Linked DNA regions of Homo sapiens: regions 1 and 2 are each linked to region 3. The links are contacts of gene promoters, found by promoter capture Hi-C in blood cells and fetal thymus (Javierre and others, 2016). All regions are on one chromosome and are shown on one strand. The core of a region is centred on a gene start or on the middle of the fragment in contact, and the rest is flanking DNA. Distances in the headings are between cores, read along the strand shown. Region 1 overlaps MCM8 (minichromosome maintenance 8 homologous recombination repair factor). Region 2 overlaps MKKS (MKKS centrosomal shuttling protein). Region 3 holds the start of TMX4 (thioredoxin related transmembrane protein 4).

Region 1 (3,658 bases), core at 100-2,599, 2.1 Mb after region 3:
CAAGTACCTCGAATACATTGGTAAGATGGCACATGACTGGTAGCTTTGCTGTAGAGGAATCTTACCTTGTCATACAAATCAATATGCCTTGTGAAAAATTTTTCAAATGCTTGAATCTTCTCAATCAAAGGAGAGCTATCGCTGTAAACTAATCCAACAAATATGGCATTAGCACAAATAATCACACAGGTACATGCACATTTTTCATGAGACAAAAGCAGCACTATATACATGGTAGATGATTTTTTTCTAATTGCTTTGTATTTTGATTACATTCATATAAGAACTAGTATAGAATGTAAACTTAAGATTCTAAAACAAATTTAGGTTTGCATAATGTGAAATGCAGACAGAAACTCTCTCTCTCTAAAAGCCCCACTATCTGGGAAACTTTGTTTTGCATCTTTGACACCTAATAGGACATGTTAGTTCAGATAATTTAGACAATAAGCTTAAACTAAAAATTATAATAAAGCCAAAGCCAGACACATAAACTAAGCTCTTACTCTGACAGAGCTGAAGACAATCACAATCACAGTCTTTCCTGAGATCAGGAGACAGACCAACACTTGACCCTGGTGGCAAAACTGAAAAGCCTTTTTTTTTTTAACACTCTAAAGTTCTACATTTTCAAATATGTCTCTCACAGAAGAACAGTACAATAAAGTAGTTTGGAAGCACAGATGGTGAAGGCTAAGGCACCTCTTGAACTCCATCTTTAGGACTGTCCAAAGATCACTTATAGTGTTCTGAGCTATCTGCTAGGGGAGCAATGGGAGTGCTGGTGGCTAATACATCCTAAAGGAACAAAAGATCATTCATGAAACAGATTCTATTGATGGAAAAAAACGAACAGATTTCCAATAAAGAAAACATTTGTAAAGTACTCTATTCATTCACAAAATGACTACTGCATGCCTGGTATGGGGCAGGGAGGGTCCTGGACCTCAAACGTCTAGTTTTCCTAAAAAAAAAAAGTATGCGGCTGGGTGCGGTGGCTCACGTCTGGAATCCTAGCACTTTGGGAGGCCGAGGCGGGCGGATAACGAGGTCAGGAGATCAAGACCATCCTAGCTAACACGGTGAAACCCCGTCTCTACTAAAAACAGAAAAAATTAGCCGGGCGTGGTGGCGGGTGCCTGTAGTCCCAGCTACTCGGGAGGCTGAGGCAGGAGAATGGCGTGAACCTGGGAGGCAGAGCTTGCAGTGAGCCAAGATCGCGCCACTGCACTTCAGCCTGGGCAACAGAGCAAGACTCCATCTCAAAAAAAAATAAAAAGTATGCACACACACACACACACACACACACACACACACCCCTCATGAGACATAAGAAACAAATGGGTATTTTAACAGCACAAAAAAGACAGTTCCCTGCACCTATACAGACTGATGTAGGTTAATTGGTATTCCTAATTATCAAAGGGAGATTCCTTACCTGTGTTTCTACACAAAGCTGTATTTGTTATTGTCCCTTGATTTCAGGCCCACTGTTCTACTTCCTGCTCTGCGATGCTATAATTCAGATCTGTACCCTACATGTCTCAGATTCTCTTTAAATTCTGCCAATTGAAGGCACTTTAGAGACGGGAAGGTGGCAGGAAGAGAAAGGAATTTATTCTTGTTTCCAACTCTTTTCAGCATCTCTGCAGCTGCAGAAGATAACGATAGTGCTAGCCTCCAGTTCCAAGCACCACTGAGTCATGCCCCCTCAGTTACCAGTGGCAACCAGCTTCATTTGCCTTAGTGGTCTAAGCACAGCTCTGTAAGGTAGCCTTCAGAAGTCCAAGCATAGCTTTGTAGGGTGCCCCTCAAAAGTCAAAATAACAGCTATGCTGTGACCTCTCCAACCTTTGAATTCCCACATTCTGGTAACCTCAGAACTTCTTTTAGTCTCTTAGCCATAAGGATGGTTGCTGCTTCCTGAATTACTACTTTCTGGGGAGTTACCTCAATATTTCCTTTCTGCTCTTTCAGTCTTCCATTTTTGTATCCAATTTCTTGTATTAAGTCCCCTTTTTGAAATACCTAGTATGGTTTCTGCTTTCCTGACTGATATAAAGTCTAAAATGCTTTTGAAACATAAACATCATTTAATTGTTTGGGTGAACTAAGATTAAAGCAGGTATATGTTAGTAAATGAATTACAGTAATACAAGATGTAGCATCCAAAGACAAGTTAAGAAAATATGATTTATGGTGCTTTTTTGTACTTTTTAAACCCTACCTTCAGAGAAATAAAGCTTCCAGCCTTTATATGGTATGAATCGATCCAATGTTGACTGCATTGACTGTGGGGTCTTTGTTGAAAGCAAAAACTGTGGGGTTTGTTCTGAAAAAAATAAAATACTAGGTTAGTAGAAACAGAGTGAACATTTTTCCAATATGCTTCTCTTTCCAAATGAGACTCTCATTAATAGAGTATCCAAATTAGGGGTTTTAGTAAAAATCTGGGACATCAATGTTCAAATACTTACTAAGGAGTAGCATGAAATAAAAGACAAACTGAAGTATGAGATAAACCGCCTTGTATGATAGACGTGAATTGCTTCCTTAAGTGAAAAAAATTGAACAATCATTGACCTCACCTACCAGAAGTACGTTTTCCTGTGGTTTTACTCAGATCAGGTCTGTGTTCTCTTTCTCTCCATTTTCCTGAGAAGTTCCCACCACCTCTTCCCCTTTTCCAGCTTTGAAATCTTCCTCGTCCAAATCCTCTGCCTCTATACTCTCCATTCATCTCTCCTAAAAGATAGATATTAAAAAGGTCTTCACCAAAACTGTAAGGAAAATAGTGCTCTTAAAAATGTATTAATAAAAAGGGAAAAATTAATGTATTCTAGGTTCAAGAGTAGCAAACAGGCTTGCAAAGTTGTACAGCTATGATACAAGACCCAAATATTCTGCAGTTAAGTTTCTAATCTCTATCGCTTTTTAAGGTATACCATAATAGTTTAATAACTATTAAATATGGTTTACGTATACTAGACGCTCACAGGTTAAAAATAAGGACAGGTACTGTACCTGTTTACAAGTCCCCATTACAGAAATGAAAATAGGACAGGTAATTAACTCTATGAAAACTTATTTGCAGTATTTGAGACTTCTTATTATAGGGCAGGACAGGATGAACATAATTCTGGCCTGTGAGACACTAGGGATACATCATCATAGCTTCTTACATACAGTCAATCCTGCAGTGTCACATCCATTTTTTGTGCAGTTTTTCTGTAAATCCAAAACTGTTCTTATAAAATACACGTCTACTTAAAAATGATTCATATCCTAAGTATACAAGTAAATAAAGATATACCTGTACGCTGCAGTGCAATTCATTATCAAATACTCTACCCAAATCCTTACTTAAAAGGGGTTTAGTTAATAAAACAAGATAGTAACTAGAAAGTTCACGATTTAACGGCATGACAGGGCTCCAATAATTAGGCATTACACATTATGAAACTGATGCTCAAAGAAATTAAGCAAACCGATCAAGATCAAAGTTGTTTGTCGACAGTACAGAGATAAAACTTTCAGCCTCCCAAGCTGAGGCGCTCCTTCAACAACGCTGCGTGCCATACCCTTCTCAAACGAGACAATATGCTGAGAACAGTAACAAATTCAAAAAAACGTTAAGAAGTAGGACTGGAGAAAGAGT
Region 2 (3,241 bases), core at 258-2,757, 2.4 Mb before region 3:
GGTCTGTCTCAGCTCTTCCAGGAGCTGGGGAAATAAGCCTTTCATTCCTTAGGGGGGTCAGGGTGGCACATCACAGCATTCATCACAAAGGTAGGGCTTTGAAGGAATCACGTGCTAGAGAATAATGGGGAGGGAGAGGGAAAACACTTTAGGTTGAGTGCTGAGAGAAAGGCTCTCTGAGTAGGTGACATCTGAACTAAGAGCTGAAGCAGAAGAATAAGCCATCCTCTGTGGACCAAAGGGGACAAGATTCTCTACTTTTCTGCTACGCACTAGGAATATAGCAGAGAAGACAAGTGGCTGCTACCTTCTGTTATCGTGGGTGGCAGTGACTAGTTTTTCTAGATCTTGACTCCCTGCCGTAACTAAAGATGGAGTAAGTAAAAATGGATTGAGACTAATTCAGAGGAGGATAGAGGAAAAAATGAGAACTATGATTTTGAAAAATGAGTCAACTTGGTAAAGACTTTATGCAGTTTTTTGTGCGGGTTTGGTTTGGTTTGGTTTGGTTTGGTTTGGTTTGGTTTGGTTTTTTGACCCTATACAGCATTGAGTTATGTTTTATTAAGATTGTCCCATTATCTTCTCAAACCTGTATTCTCCTTGAGGACAAGAATCATGCCTTACTCTTCTTGGTAGTTCCCCCCTGAGGCTAGTAGTCTTGCTAGCACCTAATAGACACTAAGTGAGCATTTGGATAGAATTAATCTTGTACATATTTGAAGTGAAAATTGCTAATCCCTAAATATTGTGAATGTGGGATACATGACTGTGTTTGGATTTGTCTTTACAGTATTTCCTCACCTTATAAGTTGGAACCCAATTTTAGTCAAAATATTCGATGATAATATATAATTGCTTTGATCAAGCAGGAACCTCCAGGGGTGCCTATTTTTATATATGATTCGTATAAGATAATATACTCCCAATAAAAGTAATGGCTGCCGTGTATTGAGCACTTCCCACATGCTAGGCACTGTACTAAGCTATGAATGTATATAGTTCTCTTCATAATGTGGCCCCCTATTTCAGATCATGACATTGAGGCAGGAGAGAAGTAATTTGTCCAAGACCATAACTAATTTGTGGTGGAGGTTAGACTTTGATTCTCGCCATTACTCAATGCTTTTGCTCTTATGTAAAACGTTGTTTCAGACCAACAGCGTGTCTGAAAATGTCGACCAAGTTTCAGTCATTGTAGGATTCTCACATTTGATCACTTGGCTGCTCTATTAACTGTTATTAGAGAAACATACATGAAATTTTTCACCGTCTTTGCTTCTTTGCTCTGTATCAGTTTTCTGACTTCCTTCACAGCTTTCCTGGCTCTCACTTTAGAAGCTTGACAGTTATCTGTCCTATAATATCCTAGAATCTAATTACCAGATTCACTACCCTAGTCAAACCCCAAAGACCTCTGAACCTCTCTGTTGAGACTGGGTATTTTTATTCTTAGCTAACTAACTGAAACTGCCCAGAGAAGTGGGCCTTCCTTTATGGGGACCACTTCCCTTAGTTTGGGCATTAATTCTAATCCTCTCCAGTTCTTGCTATACTACAGGTTAATTCCAGTAATGTTTTTTTTCTTTTTGACATAATCAAAATAATAATAGCTAACAATTACTGAGCCCAGACAAAGTGCCAAGTATTGTGATAACTGCACAGCAAGCTTATGATATGGATGTTATTATTCACATTGTACACACAATGGAACTGAAGCACAATGAGATTAAGTGACTAATCCAAGGCCACACAGCCAGTTGTAAAGTGGTAAGTGAAGATTCAAAGCCAGGTGGTATGAGTCCACAGCTCATCCCTTAATCACTACATGACAATGCATTCTTACAAAAATGATTTAAAGTGCTTGACTTTCTGAAAACTGGTAGGCAGGATCTAGATCCTAGTGGATTTTTCTTTCTGCTGTACTAAGAAATTTAGATTTCACTCTAGTCAAAAATGTCACTAAAGGCTTTTAAGCAAAGCAGGAATACAACCAGATTTGTTTTTGTTTTTGTTTTTTTGTTTTTTGTTTTGCAAGATGGCTATATTAAAAGTGTAGAGAATGGATTAGTGGATGTAGACTAGAACAGTGGGTCTCAAACTTTAGCTTCAGAATTACCTAAAGAATTAATTAAAACACAGATTACTGGACCCCACCCTAGAGTTTCTGACTCAGTAGGTCAGGAGGGGCAGCTTGATAATTTGCATTTCTAGTAAATTCCCAAGTGTTGCTAATGGCACTGTTGAGAGGACCACAGTTTGAGAACTACTGGAATTGAAGCAAGGAGGTCATGTGAGGGCGCGAGGGTCTGGACTGTGACCCTAGGGAGGAGGGATTATGTAAAGAAACACTTATGTCAAATGGCAGGATGTGCTGAGTGAGTTGATGAGGAGCATGAGGAAAAGGGCAGAGTCCAGTATATCCAGATTTCTGAATTGAATGGCTTAGTAGATGATGCTTTTTGTTAACGAAACAGGAAATCCAGGTGGAACAGCAGTTTGGGAGGGAAAGAGGACTTATTTTTATATGAGATGAATTGAGACTATTTGTGGGGACGGTTAGTTCAAAGGTGTACAGTAGCAGTTTATTATGTGGGTCTAAGCTGGAGATGAACGTGTGAGAGCCAGAGTGGATGCATGATCATAGAAGTTTGGGGATTGAATGAGACCGCCCAGGAAACAAACACTACCAAAGACAGATCTTTGATAAGGATGAATAGGTGGATGGAAACCAGCAGGCTATTAAAGGAGACTAAGAAGGAACAGTATAGAGTCCTGAGTACTTAGGAGTCTCAAGAACACATCAAAAGGCTACAGGGAGATTATGTAAGGGGAAGGATTGGTGATCTTTATGGTCAGAACACTTTCCATGGAGAATGAAACAAAAGCAGATTGCTTGGGTTTGAAGATGGAATGGGAAGTGACTAGGAAAAGATGCATTATTTGAAAGGAAAGAGATTGTGTAGTACTGGGAAGGAAGATGGTAAAGGGCAGTTGCCTTAGGGAATTTGTTTTTGACTCTTTTCAGTGGAGAAAAATAGTCATAGTTATGCAAAAGAGAAAGGCCCTTAAGAGTGGAAGGTTGGAGGTAGATGAGAGGGGATAATGAAGTTAGAACCCCAAAGACACAGTAGAAAGTGGGACTGGAACACAGGTAATAGGAATACCAGTTCTTCTGACAGCAGGCAAGGAGTTTTATTTATTTATTTATTTATTGAGACGGAGTCTTGCTCTGTCACCT
Region 3 (3,388 bases), core at 622-3,121:
GTGGGCAAAACTGAAGCTGGGCTGTGAGAGGCATTGTGTATCATGCTAAGTGAAGTTAACTTTAGTATAAGAAAAATAGACATTACAGCGTATTGTTGCCTCCAAATAATAATATTAGTGTTGGCAATATTGTGGCAAAAACCACAATTATGTTTGCACCAACCTAATATGTAAGCTTTTTGAGTTAGAATATGTGCTAGGCATTATTCTTATCTCATATAATCTTCACAGCCACCTTTTGGAGCAGGTTCTATTACTACCCGCATTTTAAGAGAACTTTGGTGTGGACTAGTTTTAGCCCCAAATCACATGGCTAGGAAGTGTCAGGGCTAAGATGCCAATCATGGTCTGACAGCAACAGGTCCCTTACCCTGGTCTGTGACTCCTTACGGCAAGGTCAGTCCCATACTTCCTTGCTACTTTCTTCCTACCATCCTTAGTCTGAAGGCTAAGACTTCAGTTTTTGTTAAAGATAGGAAATGCTTTGGTAATGGCTGTCTTTCATGCTGAAGATGCTCTCTCTCCTTTTAGCTTTTCATTTTGTAAATTTTCCAACATATGCATGAGTAGGTAAAGTAGCAAAATGAACTTAGCTTCAACACTGACTGATGTTGCACCACTTTTCTTTCACCTATCTTCTTTCCATTCCCTACATTTTATTTCTGGAGCATTGTAAAACAAATTCTACACATCATTCTATCATGAAAGTGATAAAATGACAGAATTCCTGTTTATGAGTCACTTCTTTTTACAAGCACAGTAAAATGTTTTCCATTGAGTTTATGGAATTGATATGTATGTACTTAATAACAGTGAGTCTTAGTAGCATTCATTGCAAAGACATTTTCTTAAATTTCAATAGTTTGTAAACCCTTGAGTGTTTTATTTTAATGATAAGGGCTAGGTCCACATAGTTTTTAGCTAATACTAATTAATGCATAATGCAGGCCAGATCTTCTCTTCAGGCAAAATTAACTTCCCTCTCCTATAAGTATTGATTGAAATTTGCTCTCATGTGCCCTGAAGTACTTTTAGTCTTATTGCTGTCTTTGTTTTAAGCCGAGGGCAGAAACCACATCCTTTTCATGGTCTATTAACCACATTACCGAGGTTCATGGTTTGCACAACTAGTAAACACATACAAAGCACCCTTTGAGAAAGCTTCCTCATCCTTTAATTGTAATCCAGTCTTATATATTAACGGTGTGGTGGTCCCAAGGTACAGATTCATCTAATGTGACCTGGAAAGAAATTTGGAAATCACTTAAGGCTACCCTCATTTTAGATCTGACAAAACTGTAGTCAAGAGAAATGTGAGGTCCATTTTACTGCAGGTGGCAATAGTCTTAATTGACTCATTTTATCGGCTAGTACCCATGTTTTTAAGAGTTTCTATGAAATTAACATTTTTTGTAAAAAAAATGCAATTGCATAGGCTAGTTTCATCAATATCCTAAATTAGTGATGCTTCAATATACACATGCAGAGTACTTAAATTTTCCTCTCTCTTCAGCAGGAGATACTCACCACGTCCCTCCATTTTTCATTAAACATACGTGTACCTTGCAGCCCGTTGCTTTTATATTTGCTATCATTGAAGAGGGGATGGATTTTAAAATTACTGGCCATGTTTCCCTTTAGAGAAGCCCACACGCGCCAACCCTGCCCTTATTGGAGCCTGGGCAGCAGCGGTGCATGTTCTAACTTAGGCAACGTTGGGTCATCTGTTTATTGTCAGCTTGGCGGTCAGGAAGAAAGGGCGGTGGTTGCTGAGGTAACCGACACCCCGGGCAACGGCAAGTGGAGGCGGGAGGGGGCGTGGCCTCGACGGGCAAGCGGCGATAAGAGGTGGCGTCCTCCGCGGCATTGCGAGCACCGCCAGTCTGCGCCGCTAGGCGTAGGCGGGGTGGCCCTTGCGTCTCCCGCTTCCTTGAAAAACCCGGCGGGCGAGCGAGGCTGCGGGCCGGCCGCTGCCCTTCCCCACACTCCCCGCCGAGAAGCCTCGCTCGGCGCCCAACATGGCGGGTGGGCGCTGCGGCCCGCAGCTAACGGCGCTCCTGGCCGCCTGGATCGCGGCTGTGGCGGCGACGGCAGGCCCCGAGGAGGCCGCGCTGCCGCCGGAGCAGAGCCGGGTCCAGCCCATGACCGCCTCCAACTGGACGCTGGTGATGGAGGGCGAGTGGATGCTGAAATTGTGAGTGTGCCCGCCCGCCCCGGACGCCGCAGTGTCCTCGCGGGCGTCACCCTCCCAAGCCCGCGCGGCCCGGTGGCGATCCCGCATTGCCGCTTGGGCTCAACCTAAAACCCCGGACCAGGCTTGCCAACAACCTGCGGCGCCGGTGCCGGGCCGCTTGCGATCCTGCACTGCCGCTGGGCTCGACCTGGGGTCCGCGGACCCGCCTTACCAACGACCTGCGGCTGTGGGGCCCGGCCGCTCGCGCCGCGCATGCGCGCCGAGCCCTCGCGGTGACAGCCGAGGGTGCAGCGCGTCCCCTTGCTTTGGGGGACAGTGTTTTCGGGGTGGAGTGGGCAGCTTCCCATAGGGAGGAGAAGGGAAGGAAGAAAATCTGCAAGCAAACCGTGTGCTTTTAGATACAGATATGTATTGGAAGAGAAAGGACATTCAGTGACATCCACGTGCAGTATGAATACGTAGCACAGGCTAAGCAAGTTACCTGTTGAAGAAATTGCAGCACGGTGAAGGCAGGCCATTTGTGTCGTAGTCTTCCGTTTGAAGACCTGGAGATGTCATTGTGAGAATAAAACATAAATATGGATGCCTTTTAAATTTTACAGTATGATTTCAAATAAATGTTGATACTTATTATAACTTGTAAAGGTAGGACTTTCTGAGTAATATTAATAATTGTGCCATAAAGAAAAGAAGATACGCATTGCCCCTTTTAACAATAGAAAGCAAATGGTGGATAGTGCCTTTTCTTTAAGGAGATGGGAAACTACAGTTTTGAGTTAGGAGAAAGAAAGGGATTTGTTGATTATAGTTTAACCTTATAATAGGAAGTGACCATTTGAAAGAGGCTTGCAGTGGATGGTGGGCAGATGTCTGAGCGGGCTTGAGAGACCATCATGGTGGGCTTGCAGACTCTCTCTCTCTCTCTCTCTCTCTCTCTCTCTCTCTCTCTCTCTCTCCCCCTCCCTCCCTCCCTCCCTCCCTCCCTCCCCCTCTCTCTCTCTCTCCTCTCTCTCTTCTCTCTCTCTCTCTCTCCCTCCCTCCCTCCCTCTCTCTCTCTCTCCTCTCTCTCCTCTCTCTCTCTCTCTCTCCCTCCTCTCTCTCTCTCTCTCTCTCTGTCTCTCTCTCCCCTCCCACAACTCCTTTCCACCCTACCTGCCCCCCTCCCGCCCCCACCCCCCAAACATAAAATCTTTC

The links. The method cuts DNA at HindIII sites, captures the fragments that hold promoters and counts their contacts. A CHiCAGO score of 5 or more calls a contact.
Region 1: a contact is called between a fragment that was not itself captured here and the fragment with the promoter of TMX4 in region 3, in 1 of 17 cell types (total B cells). The highest score is 6.5, in total B cells.
Region 2: a contact is called between a fragment that was not itself captured here and the fragment with the promoter of TMX4 in region 3, in 1 of 17 cell types (total CD8 T cells). The highest score is 5.2, in total CD8 T cells.

The regions. Positions count from the first base shown.
Region 1 is chr20:5,951,098-5,954,755 of GRCh38, reverse strand. It overlaps MCM8 (minichromosome maintenance 8 homologous recombination repair factor), which reads right to left. Exons shown (of 19, transcript NM_032485.6): 2 at 2,593-2,745; 3 at 2,228-2,332; 4 at 66-148. The coding sequence starts at 2,740. Among named protein-coding and RNA genes, the nearest start is that of MCM8, 2.3 kb to the right of the region's middle. The HindIII fragment of the contact is 1,792 bases long and covers 454-2,245 here.
Region 2 is chr20:10,428,819-10,432,059 of GRCh38, reverse strand. The region is part of intron 1 of MKKS (MKKS centrosomal shuttling protein); the gene reads left to right. All of the region lies in intron 1 of LOC128706665, which reads left to right. The region is part of intron 1 of LOC128706666; the gene reads left to right. Among named protein-coding and RNA genes, the nearest start is that of MKKS, 3.8 kb to the left of the region's middle. RefSeq lists an enhancer at 1-443. The HindIII fragment of the contact is 328 bases long and covers 1,344-1,671 here.
Region 3 is chr20:8,018,244-8,021,631 of GRCh38, reverse strand. TMX4 (thioredoxin related transmembrane protein 4) reads left to right here and starts at 1,871. Exons shown (of 8, transcript NM_021156.4): 1 at 1,871-2,194. The coding sequence starts at 2,019. It overlaps TMX4-AS1 (TMX4 antisense RNA 1), which reads right to left and starts at 1,726. Exons shown (of 7, transcript NR_184034.1): 1 at 1,528-1,726; 2 at 371-1,241. RefSeq lists silencers at 1,871-2,110, 2,221-2,360. The HindIII fragment of the contact is 3,626 bases long and covers 1,164-3,388 here.